Regions from separate parts of the Homo sapiens genome. Here region 1 is linked to region 2. Evidence: promoter capture Hi-C in human tissues and cell types (Jung and others, 2019). All regions are on one chromosome and are shown on one strand. Each heading gives the region's core, a stretch centred on a gene start or on the middle of the fragment in contact. The rest is flanking DNA. Distances are from core to core; before and after follow the strand shown.

The links. The method cuts DNA at HindIII sites, captures the fragments that hold promoters and counts their contacts. A contact is called where the count stands out against the background at its distance.
Region 1: a fragment that was not itself captured here is called in contact with the fragment with the promoter of P2RY1 in region 2 in 1 of the 25 tissues and cell types used here (heart right ventricle).

Annotation. Positions count from the first base shown.
Region 1 is chr3:152,532,751-152,537,730 of GRCh38, forward strand. No RefSeq gene overlaps it. Among named protein-coding and RNA genes, the nearest start is that of MBNL1-AS1, 270 kb to the left of the region's middle. The HindIII fragment of the contact is 4,058 bases long and covers 1-3,616 here.
Region 2 is chr3:152,832,901-152,837,502 of GRCh38, forward strand. It overlaps P2RY1 (purinergic receptor P2Y1), which reads left to right and starts at 2,231. Exons shown (of 1, transcript NM_002563.5): 1 at 2,231-4,602. The coding sequence starts at 2,883. The coding sequence ends at 4,004. RefSeq lists silencers at 2,138-2,187, 2,900-3,194 and an enhancer at 2,368-2,467. The HindIII fragment of the contact is 5,667 bases long and covers 1-4,602 here.

The sequences.
Region 1 (4,980 bases), core at 338-2,837, 300 kb before region 2:
TTCCATTTGTTTGTGTCATCTCTGATTCATTTGGCAGCATTTTGTAGTTCTCCTTGTAGAGCTCTTTCACCTCCCTGGTTAGCTGTATTCCTAGGTATTTTATTCTTTTTGTGGCAGTTGTACATGAAATTGCCTTTCTGATTTGGCACTTGGCTTGGCTGTTGCTGGTTGTTAGGAATGCTAGTGATTTTTTGTACATTGATTTTGTATCCTGAAACTTTGCTGAACTTGTTTATCAGCTGAAGGAGGAGCTTTTGGGCTGAGACTATGGAGTTTTCTAGATACAGGATCACGTCATCTGCAAATAGAGATAGTTGACTTCCTCCCTTCCCATTTGGATGCCATTTATTTCCTTCTCTTGCCTCATTGCCCTGGCCAGGACTTCCAATACTATGTTGAATAGGAGTGCTGAGAGAGGGCATTCTTGCCTTGTGCCAGTTTTCAAGGGGAATGGTCCTAGCTTTTGCCCATTTAGTATGATGTGGGCTGTGGGTTCGTTATAGATGGCTCTTATTATTTTGAGGTATGTTCCTTCAACACCTAGTTTATTGAAAGTTTTTAACATGAAAGGTGTTGAATATGATCAAAAGCCTTTTCTGCATCTATTGAGATAATCATGTGGTTTTTGTCTTTAGTGTGATGAATTACATTTACTGATTTGCATATGTCAAACCAACCTTGCATCTCAGGGATAAATCCTACTTGATTGTGGTGGATAAAATTTTTGATATGCTGCTGGATTCAATTTGCAAGTGTTTTTTGACAATTTTTGCATTGATGTTCACCAAAGATATTGGCCTGAAGCTTTCTTTTTATGTTGTGTCTCTGTCAGGTTTTGGTATCAGGATGATACTGGCCTCATAGAATGAGTAAGGGAGGAATCCCTCTTCCTCAATTTTTTTGGAATAGTTTCAGCAGGAATGGTACCAGCTCTTCTTTGTACATCTGGTAGAATTCAGCTATGACTCCATCTGGTTCTGGGCCTTTTTTGGTTGGTAGGCTATTTACTACTGATCAATTTCAGAGCTCATTATTGGTCTGCTCAGGGATTCAGCTTCTTCCTTGTTCAGTCTTGGGAGAATGCATGTGTCCAGGAATTTATCCATTTCTTCTAGAGTTTCTAGTTTATGTGCATAGAAGTGTTCATAATATTCCCCAATGGTTGTATTTCTGTGGGGTGATTGGTAATATCTTGTCATTTTTGACTGTGTTTATTTGAATCTTCTCTCTGTTGTTCTTTATTAGCCTAGCTAGCAATCTATGTATTTTACTATTTTTTCAAAGAAACAGCTCCTGATTTGTTGATTTTTTTACAAGATTTGAAAAGTTTATTATATGTAAGATATATGTTTACGGATAAGAAAGTCTCTAAAAACAAAAGAAAATGGAACTTTAAAAAAATTAGATTTTACATTTTTTACAACTCATTAATAAGATACCAAATTCAAGAGAGATTATAGTTACATTGTTAAATGTAATCTTCTTTGAATGAAAGCTAATAATAACTTAAACTGATGAATTACAAATACATTTATTTATTGGTGATTAGAAATAATACTTAAGAACTTCAGGGGCTTGAGTAGTAGTTTAAGCTACACAGAGCAAAGAAAATTCTTGTGTGTGTATATATATATATATACACACACAAAATATATATTTATTTATATATAAATTTATATAGATATTTAATTCCAGTAACATTTTCTTAAATTCCTGTTAAAAAATATTAAAGTCAGCAAAACGCCTTTGACTGATACCTGGATTATTTTACCACTTAACCTAGTTACACAGTGGTTTTTTTTTTCCTGTCATATGTAACTGACAACTAGCTTTGTCTTTAAGATAAATGAAGTGATAACACCTATTGCAGCATCTTGTGGAAAATATTCAAACTACATTTAAAATGCTTTTGTAAAATGGAAAAATCTATTTTTCTACAAGAAATTGTATATGTAAAACTATGGGTGGACTATGGTAATAGTAACTAAACTATATCTAACCCTGAAGGTAGAAAAATCCCTGAAAAGAAATACACAGCCTAGTTATAATATGGATTCATTGATCTTTTGAATAGTTTTTCGTGTTCAGTCTCCTTCAGTTCAGCTCTGATTTTGGTTATTTCTTTTTTCTGCTAGCTTTGGAGTTGATTTTTTCTTGTTTCTCTAAATTCTTTCAGTTGCAATTTTACGTTGTTAGTTTGAGATCTTTCTAACTTTTTAATGTGGGCATTATTGCTATGAATTTCCCTCTGAACACTTCCTTAACTGTATCCCAGAGATTCTGGTATGCCTTATCTTTGTCCTCATTAGTTTCAGAGAACTTCCTGACTTCTACCTTAATTTTGTTATTTATCTAAAAGTCATTCAGGAGCAGGTTATTCAATTTCCATGTAATTGTATGGTTTTGAGTGAATTCATTGTGCTGTGGCCCATGAGATTGTTTGTTATCTTTCAGTTATTTTGTATTTTCTGAGGAGTGTTTTCTTCTGATTATGTGATACATGAAAAACCATTCAAAAGATCAATGAATCCATATTATAACTAGGCTGCGTATTTCTTTTCAGGGATATATTTTAGGATATGTGCCACGTGGCAATGGGAAAAATGTATATTCTATTGTTTTTGAGTGGTGAGTACTGTAGATGTCTATCAGGTCCACTTGATCCAGTGCTGAGTTTAGGTGCTGAATATCTTCACTAATTTTCTGTCTTGATACTCTATCTAATATTGTCAGTGGGATGTTAAATTCTCCCACTGCCATTATGTGGGAGTCTAAATCTCTTTGAAGGTCTCTAAGAACTTTCTTTATGAATTTGGGTGCTCCTGTGTTGGGTGAATATGTATTTATGATAGATCATCTTGTTGAATTGAACCCTTTACCATTATGTAATGCACTTTGCCTTATTTGATCTTTGTTGGTTTAAAGTCTATTTTGTCTGAAACTAGGATTGCAACCCCTGCTTTTTTTCTATTATCCATTTGCTTGGTAGATTTTTCTCCATCCCTTTATTTTGAGCCTATGTGAGATGAATCTCTCGAAGACAGCATACCAGTGGGTCTTCATTATCCAACTTTCCACTCTGTGTCTTTTAATTGGGTCATTTAGCCCATTTACATTCAAGGTTAGTATTGATATGTGTGAATCTGATCCTGTCATCATGATGTTAGCTGGCTATTTTGCAGACTCGTATATGTGGTTGCTTCATAGTGTTACTGGTCTGTGAATTTCAGTGTGTTATGGTAGTGGCTGGTACATCTTTTCCTTCCATGTTTAGTGCTTCTTTCAGCTCTTGTAAGGCAGGTCAGGTGGTAGTGAATTCCTTTAGTATTTGCTTGTCTGAAAAGGATCTTATTTTTCCTTACTTATGAAGCTTAGTTTGGCCAGAAATGAAATTCTAGGTTGCAATTTCTTTTCCTTAAGAATGTTGAATATTGGCCCTCAATCTCTTCTGGCTGGTAGGGTTTCTCCTAAGTGGTTCACTTGTTAGTCTGATGGGCTTCCCTTGGTAGATAACCTAACCCTTCTGTCTAGCTGCTTTTAACATTTTTTTCTTTTATTTCAATCTTGGAGAATCTGATGATTATGTGTCTTGGGGATGTTCTTCTTGTGAAGCATCTTACTGAGGTTGTTGGCATTTCCCGAATTTGAATGTTGGCCTCGCTAGCTAGGTTGGGGAAGTTCTCAGGGATGCTATCCTGAAATACGTTTTCCAAATTGGTTCCATTCTCCTCATCTCTTTCAGGGACAACAGTGAGTCACAGATTTTGTCTCTTTACATAACCCCGTATTGCTTGGAGGTTTTGTCTAGTCCTTCTCATTTTTTCCTCTATTCCTTTCCGACTGTCTTATTTCAGAAAGCCAAGCTTCAAGCTCTGAGATTCTTTCCTCTGCTTGATCTATTCTGCTGTCAATAATTATGATTTCATTATGAAACTCTTGTAGTGTGTTTTTAAGCTCTATCAGGTCACTTATGTTCTTTCCTATATGGCCATCTTGTCTCTCAGTTCCTGCATTGTTTTACAATTTTTAGCTTTGTTGGATTGGGTATCAACATTTGGTACTCTTGCATCTCAATGATCTTCATTCCTATCCATATTTTGAATTCTATTTCTGTCATTTCAGCCATCTCAGCCCTGTTCAGAACCTTTGCTGGAGAGGTGACACAGTCATTTGGAGGAAAGGAGGCACTGTGGCCTTTTGAATTGTCAGGGTGCTTGTGCTGATTCCTTCTCAACTTTGTGGGCTTAGCTACCTTCAATCTTTGAGGTTGCTGACCTTAGGATTTTTATTCTTTTATCCTATTTGATGACCTTCAGAGTCTAATTGTGGTATAAGGTGGATTCAGCCAACTGACTTCATTTCTGGGAGATTTTAGTGGGGCAACACTCAGTTCCCAAATCCTAGACTGCATGCTGTAGCTCCAGGGGACTTGTATCGGGACCTGACTTTGTTCTCTGGCTTCTTGAGGTTAGGAATCCACAGTGTTGGAGGTGGCTAAGTGCTCCCAGACCACTGGTTCTTATACTCTGATGAGTGGTATCAGCCAAAGCATTTCATAGTGTGGTGACAGTGGGATCCGTCCTTGTAGTGGCAGGTATGGCAGAGCGCTTGTGGGTGCTGGGGTGCCTGCCTCCCTGCAGGCATTCACCACAGTGGTGGAGGCAATGCACCTGATGGGGATGGGCTGCTGGCAACTGTGCATAGTCATTCTGGAGATGGTGGTGGCTTGGGGGTAAGGTGCTGACAGGCACAGGTCTGGGTGTCTTCTCTGTGCCCCACAAGCAGGAGTGGTTGCTCAGGATAGGGGGGGATCTGCTGTTCTCCACACAGTGTTAGTGTAAGAGTGGGGCACTGGTGGGAGCGATGCTGGCTGGCTCAGTGCATGCCAAGACTATATCTGCAATGGCAGTTGGCAAGTCGGAGGGGGAATAGGGGCAGACTGCACTCCTGTGCTCTGGCAAGGCAAGGAAAGCAAAACCT
Region 2 (4,602 bases), core at 981-3,480:
TCTGCCTCAGCCTCCCGAGTAGCTGGGACTACAGGTGCCCGCCACCACACCCGGCTAATTTTTTGTATTTTTAGTACAGAGGGGGTTTCACCGTGTTAGCCAGGATGGTCTCCATCTCCTGACCTCGTGATCTGCCCACCTCGGCCTCCTAAAGTGTTGGGATTACAGGCGTGAGCCACAGCGCCCAGCCCAAAATTTATTTTTTAACATCATTTTTTAAAAAGTCTGTGGTGCACTTAAAACAACTATCCCCCAATTCCTAGTAAGGTGTCAGTTTTCTGCAAGTACTTAATGGTATCTGGACTAAGTGTACATTTCAAAACACTCACATTATGAGTTAATGCATTTGCAACAAACTTCTGAGTGAAGTCAGATATTGCCTAGGTTGCAAATAAAAAATGCAAAGGAGTGAGGACTTAAGACCTATTGAGTACCCCTGGAACCCTTAATGGTTTTCTTTGCTTCCTTTTCTCTCTTAATAGACAATCATCCCACCTAGGACCATACTAATCAAACAATACACAAATGTTTCATGTTAAGGCTCAGAATCATAGACTCATATAATCAGGAGATTGGAAGGAAACACAAAAAGTAAGACTTTTCAAGACAACCTCATTCACACTGTTTACTTGAATTATTTACTCTTGTTTTATTATTAATTTTTATGCTGTTCAATTGACTACAATTCAAAACCCAGTGTATTCATACCATGTGCTAAGATATGCTCCTTCCTATATGTGTTCCTCTAAAGAACCATCTGGATCTTGTGGGGGATATTTTCCTTTGTGGTATCAAAGCCAGGAGCTCGTGGTTTTCCTTTATTTTTTAAGGGAACACTATCATGTAGCATCTGGGACCAGAAAGAAATCTTGATGTTATATATTTTACAGATATTTTCTTTTTGGATTTTTTTTCCTCTAAGAGAAAAGCTTTTGTTAATGTGTCATGTAAAAATACATTAACTAGTAACTTGTCAAGAAGTGCTAGATTCCATTCTTGTGCGGGTCCATTTATATATGTTCCTGAACAGCTAATATTTCATTTAGTTTCCAATTAAACTTGCTCAAATACATTTTTGAAGTGCATTGCTTAAAATTTACATTCAAGGCAAGAAAACGAGTTTGTCAGTAAATGTAGTAATTAAGGAAGTCCCAAGTCTGTATTTTTAAGATACTAGAGGTAATTGTAACTAATCACTTTAACTTAAAGAAATAGAATTGGAAATACCCCCCTCCCCCCGCCACCCCCTACCAAAACCATACCTTAGTCACTTTGGAATTATAACCGTCTTTTACGTCTATCAATATAAATGTATTGCATTTGGCATTCAAATTACTTTCAAAGGGATAAATTTCGAATTTTTTTTTTTCATTGTAGCTTCTGATCTTTAAATGTACTGAACAGGAGGATTTGGGGAGCTTGTCTTGTCTGATAGGTGTTAAGTATCTATGACGACAAATTTGAGCTGAAGCAATGTGCAATATGGACTAGTAATATCTTCACAAGACTATTTTGGAAATTCTCACGTTGATGTTATTAATGACGTGGGTTTATTAGCATTTGGGTAATTAAGAAAAAACAGTACTAGAATTTAAAAAAAAGAAAAAAAAAGGTAAGAAGGGCGAAACAGAGTTCTCCACTCCTCTCCCAACCCTCATTCCTTTGGAGGCTCGCGCCCTCTTGGAATAGCAGGTTCCTGCATGTGCCAGAAATCCGGTCCCGGCAAAGCTAGACGCTCTGCAATGACAGGCGTTCCCAGCTAGGGACTCCTGGCTGCTTGGAGCTTGAAAACACCTGGCGTGGTTCTCGAGGGCCCTAGAGGCTCCTGCTACGGACTGGTCGGCTCTGGGGTTGTAGGCAGAAGGCTCTAAGCGGTCGGAAGGGTTTCCTGTGTGTCAGCAACTTCACTTTGCCGAGATAGCTGGCGGAAGAGGGAAGGAGCGCTCGCGGGCCAATCGCCTGCCAGCAGCCACCTTGGAGCGCACCCCTCTCCCTCGCCGCCGACTCCGGTAGCAGCGTGCCGGCAGAGGCTGAACACACTCGGCCTCGGCGGAGACCTGCTCCCCAGAAGACGCCTCCTGCTTCCCACTGCGCCCTGGAGGACGCGGGCTGGCTGCTGGGCGAGCTCGGCGGAGGCACGCCCCTCGCCTCCCCGCGGAGTGCGGACTCGCCCCGGTGCCCAAACTCCGCCCACCCTCTAGGGAGCTCCGCTCTCCCGCCTAACCCCGGCACTCCGGACAGAGCTGGGCCTGGGGAAGGGGTTCCTGAACTACGCGGACGCCGAACGGGACGCGCTGCAGAAGCGCACGAGTCTGCGGCCACGCGCGCTCCGATGGCTGCCAGGAGCTGAGCTCAGGGTGGGCGGAGGAAGCGGTTAGACGCCCCGAAACTGAGCTGCACGTTTCTAAGGTAGGGAGGAGGAAGATGCCCCCAATTAAGTTGATCTTTGAGCCAAGGAGGCTGGGGAGCAGCCTCCCCAAGCTAGAGCCCTGCAGAGCGAGTTTCCCTTGACCTCGCTGCGCCTCTGGCGCGCTCTGCAGCGCGGACCCGCGGCCCCTCGGGAAAGCGCAGTCGGAAAGTTATCCGCGGCGGTTCCCTGCGCGCCCTGTTGTGTAAGCTCGGCGTTGCCAGCGGACGGAGAAGTTGCTGGCTTGCCCGATAGCCCAGTTCGGTGGCGGCCCGGGGCGGATTTCATGGCCCGCGGCGAACGCGGGGCCAGAGCTGGCGTGGGCGAGCCCCTGCGCGCCCCCTCCCGCGGGGATCCAGTTCGCCTGCTCCCTTCCGCTCGCTGGCTTTTCCGATGCTTGCTGCGCCCCTGGCCGCCGCTGCCCTCTCGCCGCCTCCTACCCCTCGGAGCCGCCGCCTAAGTCGAGGAGGAGAGAATGACCGAGGTGCTGTGGCCGGCTGTCCCCAACGGGACGGACGCTGCCTTCCTGGCCGGTCCGGGTTCGTCCTGGGGGAACAGCACGGTCGCCTCCACTGCCGCCGTCTCCTCGTCGTTCAAATGCGCCTTGACCAAGACGGGCTTCCAGTTTTACTACCTGCCGGCTGTCTACATCTTGGTATTCATCATCGGCTTCCTGGGCAACAGCGTGGCCATCTGGATGTTCGTCTTCCACATGAAGCCCTGGAGCGGCATCTCCGTGTACATGTTCAATTTGGCTCTGGCCGACTTCTTGTACGTGCTGACTCTGCCAGCCCTGATCTTCTACTACTTCAATAAAACAGACTGGATCTTCGGGGATGCCATGTGTAAACTGCAGAGGTTCATCTTTCATGTGAACCTCTATGGCAGCATCTTGTTTCTGACATGCATCAGTGCCCACCGGTACAGCGGTGTGGTGTACCCCCTCAAGTCCCTGGGCCGGCTCAAAAAGAAGAATGCGATCTGTATCAGCGTGCTGGTGTGGCTCATTGTGGTGGTGGCGATCTCCCCCATCCTCTTCTACTCAGGTACCGGGGTCCGCAAAAACAAAACCATCACCTGTTACGACACCACCTCAGACGAGTACCTGCGAAGTTATTTCATCTACAGCATGTGCACGACCGTGGCCATGTTCTGTGTCCCCTTGGTGCTGATTCTGGGCTGTTACGGATTAATTGTGAGAGCTTTGATTTACAAAGATCTGGACAACTCTCCTCTGAGGAGAAAATCGATTTACCTGGTAATCATTGTACTGACTGTTTTTGCTGTGTCTTACATCCCTTTCCATGTGATGAAAACGATGAACTTGAGGGCCCGGCTTGATTTTCAGACCCCAGCAATGTGTGCTTTCAATGACAGGGTTTATGCCACGTATCAGGTGACAAGAGGTCTAGCAAGTCTCAACAGTTGTGTGGACCCCATTCTCTATTTCTTGGCGGGAGATACTTTCAGAAGGAGACTCTCCCGAGCCACAAGGAAAGCTTCTAGAAGAAGTGAGGCAAATTTGCAATCCAAGAGTGAAGACATGACCCTCAATATTTTACCTGAGTTCAAGCAGAATGGAGATACAAGCCTGTGAAGGCACAAGAATCTCCAAACACCTCTCTGTTGTAATATGGTAGGATGCTTAACAGAATCAAGTACTTTTCCCCTCTTTAACTTTCTAGTTTAGAAAAAAATCAAACCAAGAAAATAGTGAGTTAAAAAAATAATAGAAGTAGAAATGCCCACATCCACACTTAGCTTGTTTGGGTTTGCTTTCACAGTCTCTCTTCCTTCTGACTAGAAGTATGTATAATAAAACAATACTACCTAGTTAAACATTTACTTTCTCTTTTGCCTTTAAAATGTGCAGGCTTTTCTGTTTAAAGTGTGTGTGCACATGAGTACTGGGGCTGTTTTTGATATTAGTAATTTCTCTAAGAAAACTAGCCCCCTGCAACTTGAGTTTGTGGTTTATCTAGCCTTTATTGTTTTTTTAAAATCCACAGTAGGAATAAAAAATCTATATTCTCAGAAATATCTAGCATGGTATATAACAAAACACTAAACTCATCAGTTCATCCGGCATCAGATCAATGGATCTCTGAGCGGGGTGTTTTTTTCAGTGTCTTATAAGCATAGATGATAGTTGACTGAGTTTCTTTAGGGCATTGAATAGACAAGTAAAGCTAATG